Linked DNA regions of Homo sapiens: region 2 is linked to region 1. Evidence: promoter capture Hi-C in 16 types of primary human blood cells and fetal thymus (Javierre and others, 2016). All regions are on one chromosome and are shown on one strand. Each heading gives the region's core, a stretch centred on a gene start or on the middle of the fragment in contact. The rest is flanking DNA. Distances are from core to core; before and after follow the strand shown. Region 1 overlaps CFDP1 (craniofacial development protein 1). Region 2 holds the start of CTRB2 (chymotrypsinogen B2).

Region 1 (6,536 bases), core at 1,699-4,198:
TGCCACCACGCCTGGCTAATTTTTGTATTTTTATAGTAGAGACGGGATTTCACCATGTTGGCCAGCCTGGTCTCGAACTCCTGACCTCATGATCTGCCTGCCTCGGCCTCCCAAAGTGCTGGGATTACAGGCGTGAGCCTCTACGCCTGGCCTGTTCCCATTTTCTAATATGTCACCATGATATATCTTGGTATGAGTGTTTTCAGCCATTTTGCTGAGCCTTCTGAGAACTTTTTTTTCCTATAATTTTTTTTCCTTTTCCTTTTCCTTTCTTTCCTCTCTCACTCTTTCTTTTCCTTTCCTTCCTTTCTTTTTTTTCTTTCTCTCCCTCTCCGCCCTTCTTTTTCTCTCTCTCTATTTATTTATTTTTGAGATGGAGTATAGCTCTGTCACCCAGGCTGGAGTGCAGTGGCGCAATCTCGGCTCACTGCAACTTCCGCCTTCCGGGTTCAAGCGATTCCCCTGCCTCAGCCTCTCGAGTAGCTGGGATACAGGCGCGTGCCACCACACCTGGCTAATTTTGTTTTTGTATTTTAATAGAGACGGGGCTTCACCTTGTTGGTCAAGATGGTCTCGATCTCCTGACCTTGTGATCCACTTGCTTCGGCCTCCCAAAGTGCTGGGATTACAGGTGTGAGCCACTGAGCCCAGCCAACTTTGAATATTTTTATAGCATTATGTTCTTCTTTTGTAAATGCAGTATCAGCATTTAACATACAATTTTTAACTTACATACAATAAAATTTACTGTTTTCAATGTACTGTTCTCTGATTTTTGTTAAATGCCTAGCGTTGTGTAACCTCCACCAAAATGAACAGTTTCAAGCCGTCAACCCTCTTAAAAAAAAAAAAAAACAAATTTCCCCTGCTACTCTTTGTAGTCAAACAACTCTCCCTCACCCCCGGCCCCAGCCATTAGCAACCTCTGGTCTGTTTTCCATCTTTATAGTTTTGCCTTTTTCAGAATATAATCTAAATGGAACCATAACAGTAGGCAGCTTTTTGTATCTGGCTTCTTCCGCTTAGCATAATGCATTTGAGATTCACCTGTGTTGTTGCACATGTCAGTAATTAGCTCCTTCTGTTGTTGGGTGGTAGTCCATTATATGGATATACCACAGTTTATTCTGCATTTGAAAGACACTGGGTTGTTTCCAATTTTTTATGATTACAAATAAAGCTGTTTATAAATATTTACACACAGCTTTTTCTGTGAACATGGGTTTTCATTTCACTTGAGTCAATATCTAGGAGTGGGATTACTGGGTTTTGTAGTATGTGTATGTTTAACTTTACAAGAAGCTGCTAAATTTTTTTGTGGCTTGATTGCTGTTGGTAACAAGTTTGAGAGTTCAAGTTGCTCTTCATCCTCAACAACACTTGGGGTGGTCAGATTTTTTTGTTTTTGTTTTTGTTTTAAATATTAGCTAATTTGGGGCCGAGCGCGGTGGCTCATGCCTGTATTCCCACCACTTTGGGAGGCCAAGGCAGGCAGATCACAAGGTCAGGAGTCCAAGACCAGCCTGGCCAATATGTTGAAACCCTGTCTCTACTAAAAAATACAAAGAATTAGCCGGGCATGGTGGTGCATGCCTGTAGTCCCAGCTACTTGGGAGGATGAGGAAGGAGAATCGCTTGAACCCAGGAGGTGGAGGTTGCAGTGAGCCGGAATTGTGCCACTGCACTCCAGCCTGGGCAAGAGAGCGAGACACTGTCTCGAAAAAAAAAGAAAAAAAATTAGCTAATTTCTCCTTTAGTTTGCATTTCCCTAAGGATGTTGATGCTCTTTTCATGTTCCTGTTTGCCATCATTTTATCTTCTTTGGTGTGTCTTTTGAATTCTTTGTCCATTTAAAACATTGGGTTGTTTTCAGTTTTGGAATTATATATTCTGGATATAGTCCTTTGTCAGATATTTGTTTTGTTTTTTTTTTTTTGAGACAGTCTCGCTGTCCCCCAGGCTGGAGTACAGTGGCATAATCTTGGCTCACCACAACCTCCACCTCCCGGGTTCAAGCGATTCTCCTGCCTCAGCCTCCCAAGTAGGTGGGATTACAAGCACTCGCCACCACACCCAGCTAATTTTTGTATTTTCAGTAGAGATGGGGTTTCACCATGTTTGCCAGGCTGGTCTCCAACTCCCAACCTCAAGTGATCCACCCACCTTGGCCTCCCAAAGTGCTGGGAGTACAGGCCTGAGTCACCACCCCCGGCTCCTTTGTCACATACTTGTTTTGCAGTGTTTTGTCTCTGTGCTTGTCTTTTCATTCTCTTAATAGTGTTTGCACAGCAATTTTTTTTGGTGTTTTTTTGAAACAGAGTCTTGCTCTGTTGCCCAGGCTGGAATGCAGTGGCACGATTTCACCTCACTGCAACCTTTACTTCCTGGGCTCAAACAATTTTCCTGCCTCAGCCTCTGTAGTAACTGGGACTACAGGCATGAGACACCATGCCTGGCCTGCAGAGTAAAATTTTTAAACTTGGATAAAATCCAGTTTGTCAAATTTTTCTATTATGGGTTGTGCTTTTGGAATCATATCTAAGAACTCTTTTTTGCCTAACTCGGGATTACAAAGATAGTGTATTTTCCTATGTAAAAGTTACATAGTTTTACTTTGTTGTTGTTTTTGTTTTTTTGAGATAGAGTTTCGCTCTTGTTGCCCAGGCTGGAGTGCAATGTCATGATCTTGGCTCACTGCAACCTCCGCCTCCTGAGTTCAAGGGATTCTCCTGCCTCAGCCTCCTGAGTAGCTGGGATTGCAGGCATGTGCCACCACGCCTGGCTAATTTTGTATTTTTAGTAGAGACAGGGTTTCTCCATGTTGGTCAGGCTGGTCTTGAACTCCCAACCTCAGGTGATCCGCCCACCTCGGCCTCCCAAAGTGTTGGGATTATAGGCATAAGCCACAGTGCCTGGCCTTTACTTTTTTTTTTTTTTTTTTTTTTTTTTTTGAGACAGAGTGTTGCTCTGTTGCCCAGGCTTGAGTGCAGTGGCATGATCTCAGCTCGCTGCAACCTCCGCCTCCCAGGTTCAAGCGATTCTCCTGCCTCAGCTTCCCGAGTAGTTGGGATTATAGGCGCCTGCCACCACGCCTGGCTAATTTTTGTATTTTTAGTGGAGATGGGGTTTCACCATGTTGGCCAGGCTGGTCTTGAACTCCTGACCTCTCAGGTAATCCGCCCACCCCGGCCTCCCAAAGTGCTGGGATTACAGGAGTGAGCCACCGTGCCCGGCCAGCATTTACTTTTTTAAAAAATCAGTTATCATTATTTATTTTCAGTTAATTTTTGCATAAGATATGAGTTATGGATTCTTTTTTTTTTTTTCTTTTGCATCTGGATGTCCAGTATTTTCATTATTTGTTGAAAAGATTATTCTTTCTCCATCGAATTCCCTTTGTATTTCTGTAAAGTGAACTGGCCATACTTGTATAGGTTTATTTCTGGGCCTCTGTTTCCACAGTTTCATTTACTGTTTTTGATTTAAGTGTTGAAATCAGGTAGAGAGAGTACTCCAACTTTATTCTTTTTCAAAATAGTTTTGGCTGCTCTTGTTCCTTTGCCTTTCCATATAGTTTTTTTTTTTTTTTTTTTTTTGAGGGGGATGGAGTGTCACTCTGTTGCCCAGGCTGGAGTGCAGTGGCGCGATCTCTGCTCACTGCAACCTCTACCTCCCAGGTTCAAGTGATTCTCCTTCCTCAGCCTCCTGTGTAGCTGGTACTACAGACGTGTGCCACCAGGCCTGGCCACCATATGCATTGTAAAATCACTTTGTTCATCTCTCGAAAAAGTATCCTACTTTGATTTTGTTTGGAATTGCATTGAATCTGTAGACCGTTTTGGGAAGAATTGACAATTTAACGATCTTATATTTTAGTCTATGAATACAGTCTGTATCTTTTTTTTTTAGGTGTAAAAAGTTTTTATTTCTAATTGTTTGTAACTAGTATATGGAAATACAATACAGGTTCTGCATACTAACCTTGTATTCTACAACCTTGCTAAACTCATTTACCAGTTCTGGAGGTTTTTGTAGATTCTGTGGGATTTTCCACACAGACAGTGATGTCAAATGTGAATAGAAACAGTTTTATTTCTTCCTTTCCAATATGTTTACCTTTTATATTTATTTTGCTTGCCTTGTTGTACTTTATACTTCCAGTATGATGTTGAATGCTAGTGGTGAGAGGGGACATCTTTGCCTTTTTCCCAATCTTTTTTTTTTTTTTTTTGAGACGGAGTCTCCCTCTGTTGCCCAGGCTGGAGTGTGCAGTGGCACGATCTTGGGTCACTGTGACCTCTGCCTCCTGGGTTCACGCCATTCTTCTGCCTCAGCCTCCCGAGTAGTTGGGACTACAGGCGCCCGCCACCACGCCCGCTAAGTTTTTGTATTTTTAGTAGAGACTGGGTTTCACCGTGTTAGCCAGAATGGTCTTGATCTCCTGACCTCGTGATCCGCCCGCCTCAGCCTCCCAAAGTGCTGGGATTATAGGCGTGAGCCACCGCGTCTGGCAGCCTTTTTCCCAATCTTAAGGGGGAAAAGAAACTAGTGTTTTACCACTTGATGTGGTGTTAGCTATAGGTTTTTCACAGATGCCGTGTGTGTCTGTCTGCCTGCCGTTTAAACCCTTTAGCATTGAGTAACTTATTACCAACTCAGTCACCTAACACTGTACGTGCTAATTGTGTTCTGCATTTTACTGATGAAAAAACTGAGGCACAAAGTCTAAGCAAATGGCTGAAATTCATCCAGTTAGATAGTAACTTAGCTGGAATGTTAACCTTGGCAGTCTGCATATATTGTCCCTCAGAGATTCCTTTTATCATGTTAGATAAGTTCCCCTCTGTTCCTAATTTTCAGAGAGGTGAATTTTGTCAAATGCTTTTTCTCCATCTATTGATTTAATTACATGTGGTTTTTCTTTTTTTTTGTCTGTTAATATGGTGGATTACAGTGTTTGATTTTCAAATTTCTGACAGACTTATTTCTGGGAGACAGCTCACTTGGTCAGGATATATTTATACATTGCTGAATTTGGTTTGCTAATATAGTCAGCCTTCTGTATCTGTGGTTTCCACAGCCATGGATTCAACCAACTGCAGATAGAAAATATTTGGAAAAAGGCTGGGTGCAGTTGCTCACGCCTGTAATCCCAGCACTTTGGGAGGCCAAGGAGTGCAGATCACTTGAAGCCAGGAGTTAAAGACCAACCTGGGAGGCCGAGGTGGGCGGATCTCAAGGTCAGGAGATCGAGACCATCCTGGCTAACGTGGTGAAACCCCGTCTCAACTAAAAATACAAAAAATTAGCCGGGCGAGGTGGCGGGTGCCTGTAGTCCCAGCTGCTCGGGAGGCTGAAGCAGGAGAATGGCGTGAACCCAAGAGGCGGAGGTTGCAGTGAGCGGAGATCGCACCACTGCTCTCCAGCCTGGGCGACAGAGTGAGACTCCGTCTCAAAAAACAAAAAAAAACCAACCTCGCCAACGTGGTGAAACCCAGTCTCTACTAAAAATACAAAAATTAGTCCCAGCTACTGGGCTGAGGCACGAGAATCGCTTGATTACCCAGACTGGAGTGCAGTGGCGCAATCAGCTCACTGCAGCCTAAAACTCCTGGGCTCAAGTGATCCTCCCACCTCAGCCTCCCAGGTACCTGGGACTACAGATGCACACCATCATGCCCATCTAATTTTTTTTTTTTTTTTTTTGAGACGGAGTCTTGCTCTGTCACCCAGGCTGGCGTGCAGTGGCACCATCTCGGTTCACTGCCAGCCCTGCCTCCCGGGTTCACGCCATTCTCCTGCCTCAGCCTCCCGAGTAGCTGGGACTACAGGCACCCACCACAAGGCCCGGCTAATTTTTTTGTATTTTTAGTAGAGATGGGGTTTCACCGTGTTAGCCAGGATGGTCTCGATCTCCTGACCTTGTGATCCGCCCACCTCGGCCTCCCAAAGTGCTGGGATTACAGGCGTGAGCCACTGCGCCCGGCCTAATTTTTTATTTTTTGTAGAGATGAGGTCTCTCACCATGTTGCCCAAGCTGGTCTCAAACACCTGGCTTTGAGCAATCTTCCTGCCTTAGCCTCCCAAAGTGCTGGCATTACAGGTGTGAGAAAACCTGGATTTGTTTGTTTGTTTTTAAAAGAAACAGGGTTTTGCTCCGTCACCCAGGCTGGAGTGCAGTGGCAAGATCACAGCTCAGTGACACGTTGAACTCCTGGCCTCAAGCGATCCTTCTGCCTTAACCTCTAAAAACGTGTTTTTTTTTTGATCACAGTTTTAAGACTCTCTAAGAGGCTGGATGTGGTGGCTCTGACCTGTAATCCCAGCACTTTGGGAGGCTGAAGTGGGTGGATCACTTGAGGCCAGGAGTTCAAGACTAGTCTGACGAACATGGTGAAACCCCGTCTCTACCAAAAATGCAAAAATCAGCTGGGAGTGGTGGTGCATACCTGTAGTCTCAGGTATTCGTGAGGCTGAGGCAGGAGAATCACTTGAACCCGGGAGGATCGTAGTGAGCCAAGATCATGCCACTGCAC
Region 2 (6,891 bases), core at 1,282-3,781, 220 kb after region 1:
ATCACACCTGACTAATTTATTTTTTGTACAGACGGGGTCTCACCATGTTGCCCAGGCTGGTCTTGAACTCCTGGGCTCAAGTGAGCCTCCTGCCTCGGCCTCCCAAAGTGCTGGGATCACAGGCATGAGCTACTGCACCTGGCTTTATATACATTTTAAGTGAGGGCATTTCAAGGTAAGTAAAGGAAGAGGTGGCCAGGAGGCTGCAGCACGTGGGGACCCCCAGCTCATCCCTCCCGCTCCCACTCTGGCCAAGGCCACGGTTCTGCCTCCCCGATCCACCAGGGCCCCGGCTCACGCGTGTGTCCTGACTCATCTGTCCTGAGTGTCCCCGGGCTCCTTCCTCGCCGTTCGGGTCCAGATCCCATGGGGACTGGAGGGCAGTGTGGGGGAGGGGTCCCTTCCCCAGGAGCAGTGGAGTGGGAACACCTGTGCGTGCCTGTCCCCGACCACTGCTGCAGCTGCACGGTTCCCACAAGCCTCTGTAGCCTTTGCGGGGTTGGGGACATGGCGGGTGACGTCCTGGCCAGCGGTTAGCTCCTAAGGCCACACAGCTGGGGCCACAGGTCACTCAGGCCAGGTGAGGGCTTGCGCCCTTTCCCCCATCTGCCCCAGCCAGCTTATAGCTAGGGGCTGCCCCTGAGGCTCTAGTACCGTCTCCTTAGGGCCCTCCTGGGCCCGCCCCCTCGACTTCTGAGCTCTTCGCTGCCCTAGGGACGCAGACCTCTTTGGGTCCTGCGACCCCAGGTTCGTTTCCTCTCCTCCGAGGGTGCTCTGGACTGCTCCCACAAACTCCTAGGCTGTTTGCTTAAATCTCCCCTTCAGAGTGAGGCCCTCCTGGCCTCAGTATCAGTAATAATAATGAGAAGAAGAACTCTTTAGCTGCTGGTGTGTGTATTTTACTTATTTTAAAAATTGACTCTCTTCCCTAAACTCTCCAGCCTCCTCCCGGCTGTCAGCTGCCACACGCAGGAATTTGTTGGTTTTGTTCAGCTGTTCCCGTGGGCCTGGTGGGCACTGGCTGGCAGGAAGAGCCCATGTGCATGCAGAGGTGGGTGCGTCTCATCCCGACCAGGCCATGCTCCGTCCTGCTGGTGCCCGCCAACCCCTCTGTCCTCAGACAATCTTCTAGAATGAGCGAAGGGCCTGAACAGGTGATTCACTCAAGAAAGAGGAATGTAGGGGCCCCGCCAGCGTGGATTGCATGCTTGGCCTGGTCCTGGTGCTCAAGAAGGCTCTTCCTTTTGTCATGGGACCCATACTCTAAGCATCCTCAATTACATACAGGATCAGAGAGGGCAAGTCATTTGCCCACGGCTCCACAGCTGCCTGACCCCACAACCCGTGCTGTAAACACACATGCTGCAGGCATCAGTGTGGTGGAATTGAAAACAGCCACGAGGCACCTTTTCCTGTGCATTTTGGGGAACTTGCCCTCCATCTGGCAGCCTCAATCCAAAATTTCTCCCTCCCCCGTTTCCCAGTTGCTGAGAAAGGGCTCCACCACCCATGCTGCCACCCGCACGAGGAACCAGGTGTCCCCGCCCATGCTCTGCCCTGAGGCTCAGCCTCCATCAGTTCTCATCAGGGCGATGCCAGGCCCCCAGGCCGGGCCCTAGGCCCAGTCTTGCCCTCTGATGCCACCTGCTCAGCTCCAGGGCCCAGGTGTGCTGGCGCCTGTGTGCAGGGGTGGCCCAGTGTGAGGACAGCAGGTAGCTACCCCTCCCCTGTACACAGCCCAAGTGACCAACACAGATGTCGACTGGGCCTTCACTGAGCCTTCTTAGCCATCCCCTGGGACCCGGCGAGCACCCGCACCCCAGCCTCTGGCTACACCATGGGGCACAGGCCTGCTCCCCCAGCCTCTCCTCTACTTGGTCACATTGCCCATTGGGTTTTTTTCTTTTTTTTTGTTTTTTTTCCTTTTTTGAGACAGTCTCACTGTCACAAGGCTGGAGTGTAGTGGCGCAATCTCGTCTCACTGCAACCTCCGCCTCCCGGGTTCACACCATTCTCCTGCCTCAGCCTCCCAAGTAGCTGGGAATACAGGTGTGCGCCACCACGCCTGGCTAATTTTTTGTATTTTTAGTAGAGACGGAGTTTCACCATGTTGGCCAGGATGGTCTTGATCTCTTGACCTCGTGATCCATCCGCCTCAGCCTCCCAAAGTGCTGGGATTACAGGCGTGAGCCACCATGCCCGGCCTGCCCAGGGGTTTTCAAACCATGAAAAGATCAAGTGAATTCTTTGCAGAGCACAAGAGACTCAGCTGGGGCTCAAACCCGGGGATGCTGGACTCAGCCCCTGGAGGCCCCTGCCCAAGCCTGGGCCTGGAGGAGAAAGGCAATGGTCGAAGGCCACCTGGGTTAGCCCGGCTCAGCTAAGGCCACAGCTGCTGCCATCCCAGGCTTCCTGGCCAGCCCTGCACCGACACATCTTGCCCACTCCCAGGGAAGGGATTATCGCCCCAAGGTCTCCAGATAACAGCAGGCACACAGGGCTATAACGGGGACCGGCAGACAGGCGTCCTACACCCCTGCCAGCGGCACCATGGCTTTCCTCTGGCTCCTCTCCTGCTGGGCCCTCCTGGGTACCACCTTCGGTGAGTGCCAGGCCCTGCGGAGGCCGAAGGGTTTTCTCCTCTCACTCCCAGCCCCGAGGCCAGCAAGAGGCAGCAGGGTCCCAGCTCCCAGTTCAGCTGTGCACCGCAGTGTGGGCCTGGGCGAGTCACCGGCTCCATCTCTGCCGTGGGCGCTGAGAGGTCAATGCCTCCCTCCCAGGCTCAGCTGCCGCCTCTGAGCTCAGGAGATGGGGAGTCCCGCTCCCCTTCCTCACCCCCAGCAGACCTGAGGCTCTCAGGGGAGGAGGCGGGGGGAGGAGGCAGGTGTCCGGGGGCTGCCCTGAGGCCTTCGGGAAACCCCCAAACAGTCAGCGGCCCCAGCACAGGTTTGGGTGGTGAATGTGTGGGCAGCTGGGGCTTGGCACCGTTCAGTCCAAACCTTTCAGAACCTCGAGCCTCACCCTCTTAAACTCCTGCTCACGGAGCACTTCCCGGGTGCCAGGCGCAGAGCTGGCGCTCTGCCTGCTCACTCTACCAAACCTGTGAGGTCAGAAACAGCGTGATCCCCACTTTGCTGATGGGGACACTGAGTGGCTTAGCTGGGCAGGGAGGGAGCCAGGTTCAAACCCACAGAGTCTGGCCTCCCAGACTGAGCGCCGGGGCTGCCGCCCACCGCACGCTCCACCTGTGTGACTTCTCCGAACTGAGGTGGGGCCAACACCCCATTCCTCAGCAGCCCACAGCCCAGTTCATTGGACTCAGTTGTACCTGGGGATTCCAGCTCTGCGGAGAGGAGAGCCAGGGCCAACTTCTCAGAGAAGGGGATGTGGGAGCCAGTCTAGGTCCCAGAGACTGGAAAAGAGTTGGGAGTGAGAGGAGGCTGGAGCATTAGGACCTGGGTGGGTGGTACCCACCCCTCAGCCCACTCCCGCCCCCAGGCTGCGGGGTCCCCGCCATCCACCCTGTGCTCAGCGGCCTGTCCAGGATCGTGAATGGGGAGGACGCCGTCCCCGGCTCCTGGCCCTGGCAGGTGTCCCTGCAGGTGAGGGGGTTCTGCAAGGTGGGGGGCACCCTGGGTAGGGGCCAGGCTGGGGGTGCCCCCGGGTGGGAGGTGCTGACCCTCCCCATCTTGCTCACAGGACAAAACCGGCTTCCACTTCTGCGGGGGCTCCCTCATCAGCGAGGACTGGGTGGTCACCGCTGCCCACTGCGGGGTCAGGTGAGGACCGGGCAGCCTTGGGCTCCGCTTCCAGCACCGGTCGGGTGGGAGGGGAGCAGGGCATGTTCTCTCACCCACAACGCTCTGCCCAGGACCTCCGACGTGGTCGTGGCTGGGGAGTTTGACCAGGGCTCTGACGAGGAGAACATCCAGGTCCTGAAGATCGCCAAGGTACCCAGGCCCCGTGCAGCAGAGGGCAGGGCCGTGGGCACGGGGGGAGACCCCTCGGCTGCTTCAGGGACAGGCGCCCAGTGGGGCCGGGCCGGCCTCGTGATTCCCATTCCGGCCCTGGGGATGGACTGCTCCTTAACGGGCACCAGGGAAGGAGTCTGTCCTCGAAGCCTGCAGGTCCTGCCTCCTCCCAGGGCCTCACCCCGGCACTCTGGCCCCCACCCCCAGGTCTTCAAGAACCCCAAGTTCAGCATTCTGACCGTGAACAATGACATCACCCTGCTGAAGCTGGCCACACCTGCCCGCTTCTCCCAGACAGTGTCCGCCGTGTGCCTGCCCAGCGCCGACGACGACTTCCCCGCGGGGACACTGTGTGCCACCACAGGCTGGGGCAAGACCAAGTACAACGGTGAGGGGCCGCGGGGCTGCCTCTGGGGTCTGGGCTGCCTGGCCGTGGAGTCCCCCCGTGACCGTTTGGCTCTAAATTCCAACACGCTCCTAACTGCCCGTTCGTTATTGAAAATCTTCTGAATTTAAAATCCCCCAAATGCAAATAAAATCCAGGTCGGATCATGAGGAGCCTGCACAGGGAGCTTCTGAGCAGCGCCCGGCCGGGTGAGCCCTGCCCTGGCTGACCTGCCTGGAGTCGCAGCGTGGGGCTCCCACCCGGGCAGGGCCGAGGCCCCCTTGTCCCACAGGCGCTTCTGAGGCTCCAGGGGCCGTACCCAACATCGTGGTGATGGTGCAGGGTAGGGCAGGCGTGTCGGCCCCGGGTCTCTCCCTCCACTCTTGGCTGAGTGAGCCCAGGGGCCCTGACCCTCCTCCTGTCCTGCAGCCAACAAGACCCCTGACAAGCTGCAGCAGGCAGCCCTGCCCCTCCTGTCCAATGCCGAATGCAAGAAGTCCTGGGGCAGGAGGATCACCGACGTGATGATCTGTGCCGGGGCCAGTGGCGTCTCCTCCTGCATGGTGAGGCTGGCCCTGCCCAGGCCCTGGCCAGGCGAGCGGGGTGCAGGGGAGGTCTGGGCTTTCCACCCCTCTCTGCTCTCATCTACTAACCCCACACCCTCCTGGGGCCCAGTGAGGGCCAGGCCTTGGGGTCACAGCCGCCCATGAGGGTTCCTCCAGGCCATGCAGCTGAGGCTGCCCCTGGGGACTTCCTTGCAGCCCTGTGAGCTGGAGGTTTGGAGAGATGGATGGTGCCCCGGCTTAGAGAGGGAAGCCACCTGCCCCAGCTCCCTCCAAGAGTGCATGGCAGAGTGGGGGCTGCCATGTGAACCCAGATCTCAGGACCCCGGCACAGCCCCTATGCCCATGCTTACCATTTCTCCGCACCCCTCCCTAGACTCCACCAGGTCAGGGTCCCCTAGGCCCTGGCACCCCTTTCAGGCCTAGAGATACTTCCTCTCCTTCCTGCAGGGTGACTCTGGAGGCCCCCTGGTCTGCCAGAAGGACGGAGCCTGGACCCTGGTGGGCATTGTGTCCTGGGGCAGCCGCACCTGCTCTACCACCACGCCCGCTGTGTACGCCCGTGTCGCCAAGCTCATACCCTGGGTGCAGAAGATCCTGGCCGCCAACTGAGCCCGCAGCTCCTGCCACCCCTGCCTTAAGATTTCCCATTAAATGCATCTGTTTAGAAGCCCTGACTGCACTGCCTGTGTCTGTGTGGCCCAGGGGAGGTGGGCTTGAAGTTGTCCTTGTCACCCACAAAGGGGCAGCACTACCGTTCCCTTTCCAGGCTGCAGTTAATGTTGGCAACCCAGCCTTCTCAGGAAGCTGAGGTCTTCATATCTCTTGCCTGCTCACGGCTCCACCCTGGGTTTAGAATTTAGGCCCTACCTGCTGAAGCTAGCTTGACCCGTGGGGCTTTCTGGAAGGCAGCAGTCCTTGGCCAGGCTCTGCAATCCATAGCCCCCTGGAGTTGTCACTGGGACCACTGCTGACCCACACACTCCAGGTGCCTTTCTCTGCCTTTAGTCCCCCATGTCCAGTGCTCAGGAATGTGCATGCAAGCATCACCCCCTCCCCCGTCAGACCCCAGCCCCTCACACCTTCTGCATCCACTGCTGGGAGCTGGCGCCACTGTCCTCTCAGCTCCCACACTCTTCCCCGCCTCCCTCTCTGCATTTTCTGTGACCCTGCAGTTAGACTTTTTTTTTTTTTTTTTTTTTTTTTTTTGAGACAGAGTCTTGTTCTGCTGCCTAGGCTGGAGTGCAGTGACATCTTGGCTCACGGCAACCTCTGCCTCCTGGGTTCAAGCCATTCTTCTGCCTCAGCCTCTCAAGTAACTGGGATTATAGGCACTCACTACCACGCCCGGCTAATTGTTGTATTTTCAGTAGAGATGGGGTTTCACTATGTTGTTCAGACTGGTCTCAAATTCCTGACCTCAGGTGATCTGCCTGCCTCGGCCTCCGAAAGTGCTGGGATCATAGGCATGAGCCACCGCGCTCGGCCTCTGCAGTTAGATCTTGAGGCTTCCTCACGCTCAGCTTCCATCACTTCGGCCAGGCCATGGAGGGGGCCGGTTCCTTTCCCAGGATGTGTCCGGATTGGCGGTCTCTCTCTCTCTGGAAACTTTTAGTCTTTCCTTTAATGCAGTGAAAATTTTGTTGGAGAAAATTCTCCTGTTGTTCCACTGTCTGAAAAGATATTTATTCATTTTGATCTTGTAAAAGTTGCCTGTCACTCTGAAAAATAATTTTTGTTGAGACGTGCATGTGGGTATGTACATGGATATTTGGACTTGGAAGGTGTTTCAGTGTCTCCTGGCTTCTGTTGATTCGTGGAGAAGTCAGTGATTTACTGTTGCTTTTTAAAAAGGTTTAATGGATTTTCTTTGGATGCTTTTAAGATTTTACCTTTGATTTTCGTTGGTTTACCAAGATGCTTAGTTTCTTAGTTTCCTTGACTCAGCCTGCATGGGGTTCTTAGACAGTCT

What was found. Contacts are between HindIII fragments. The CHiCAGO score rates a contact against its expected background, and 5 or more counts as called.
Region 2: a contact is called between the fragment with the promoter of CTRB2 here and a fragment that was not itself captured in region 1, in 3 of 17 cell types (M1 macrophages, non-activated CD4 T cells and endothelial precursors). The highest score is 5.6, in M1 macrophages.

Annotation. Positions count from the first base shown.
Region 1 is chr16:75,422,451-75,428,986 of GRCh38, reverse strand. The region is part of intron 1 of CFDP1 (craniofacial development protein 1); the gene reads left to right. Among named protein-coding and RNA genes, the nearest start is that of CFDP1, 7.8 kb to the left of the region's middle. The HindIII fragment of the contact is 9,499 bases long and covers 1-6,536 here.
Region 2 is chr16:75,202,801-75,209,691 of GRCh38, reverse strand. CTRB2 (chymotrypsinogen B2) reads left to right here and starts at 2,531. Exons shown (of 7, transcript NM_001025200.4): 1 at 2,531-2,602; 2 at 3,499-3,602; 3 at 3,700-3,779; 4 at 3,872-3,950; 5 at 4,179-4,359; 6 at 4,786-4,919; 7 at 5,370-5,589. The coding sequence starts at 2,551. The coding sequence ends at 5,531. RefSeq lists enhancers at 1-493, 494-1,049 and a silencer at 2,722-2,941. The HindIII fragment of the contact is 10,617 bases long and covers 1-6,891 here.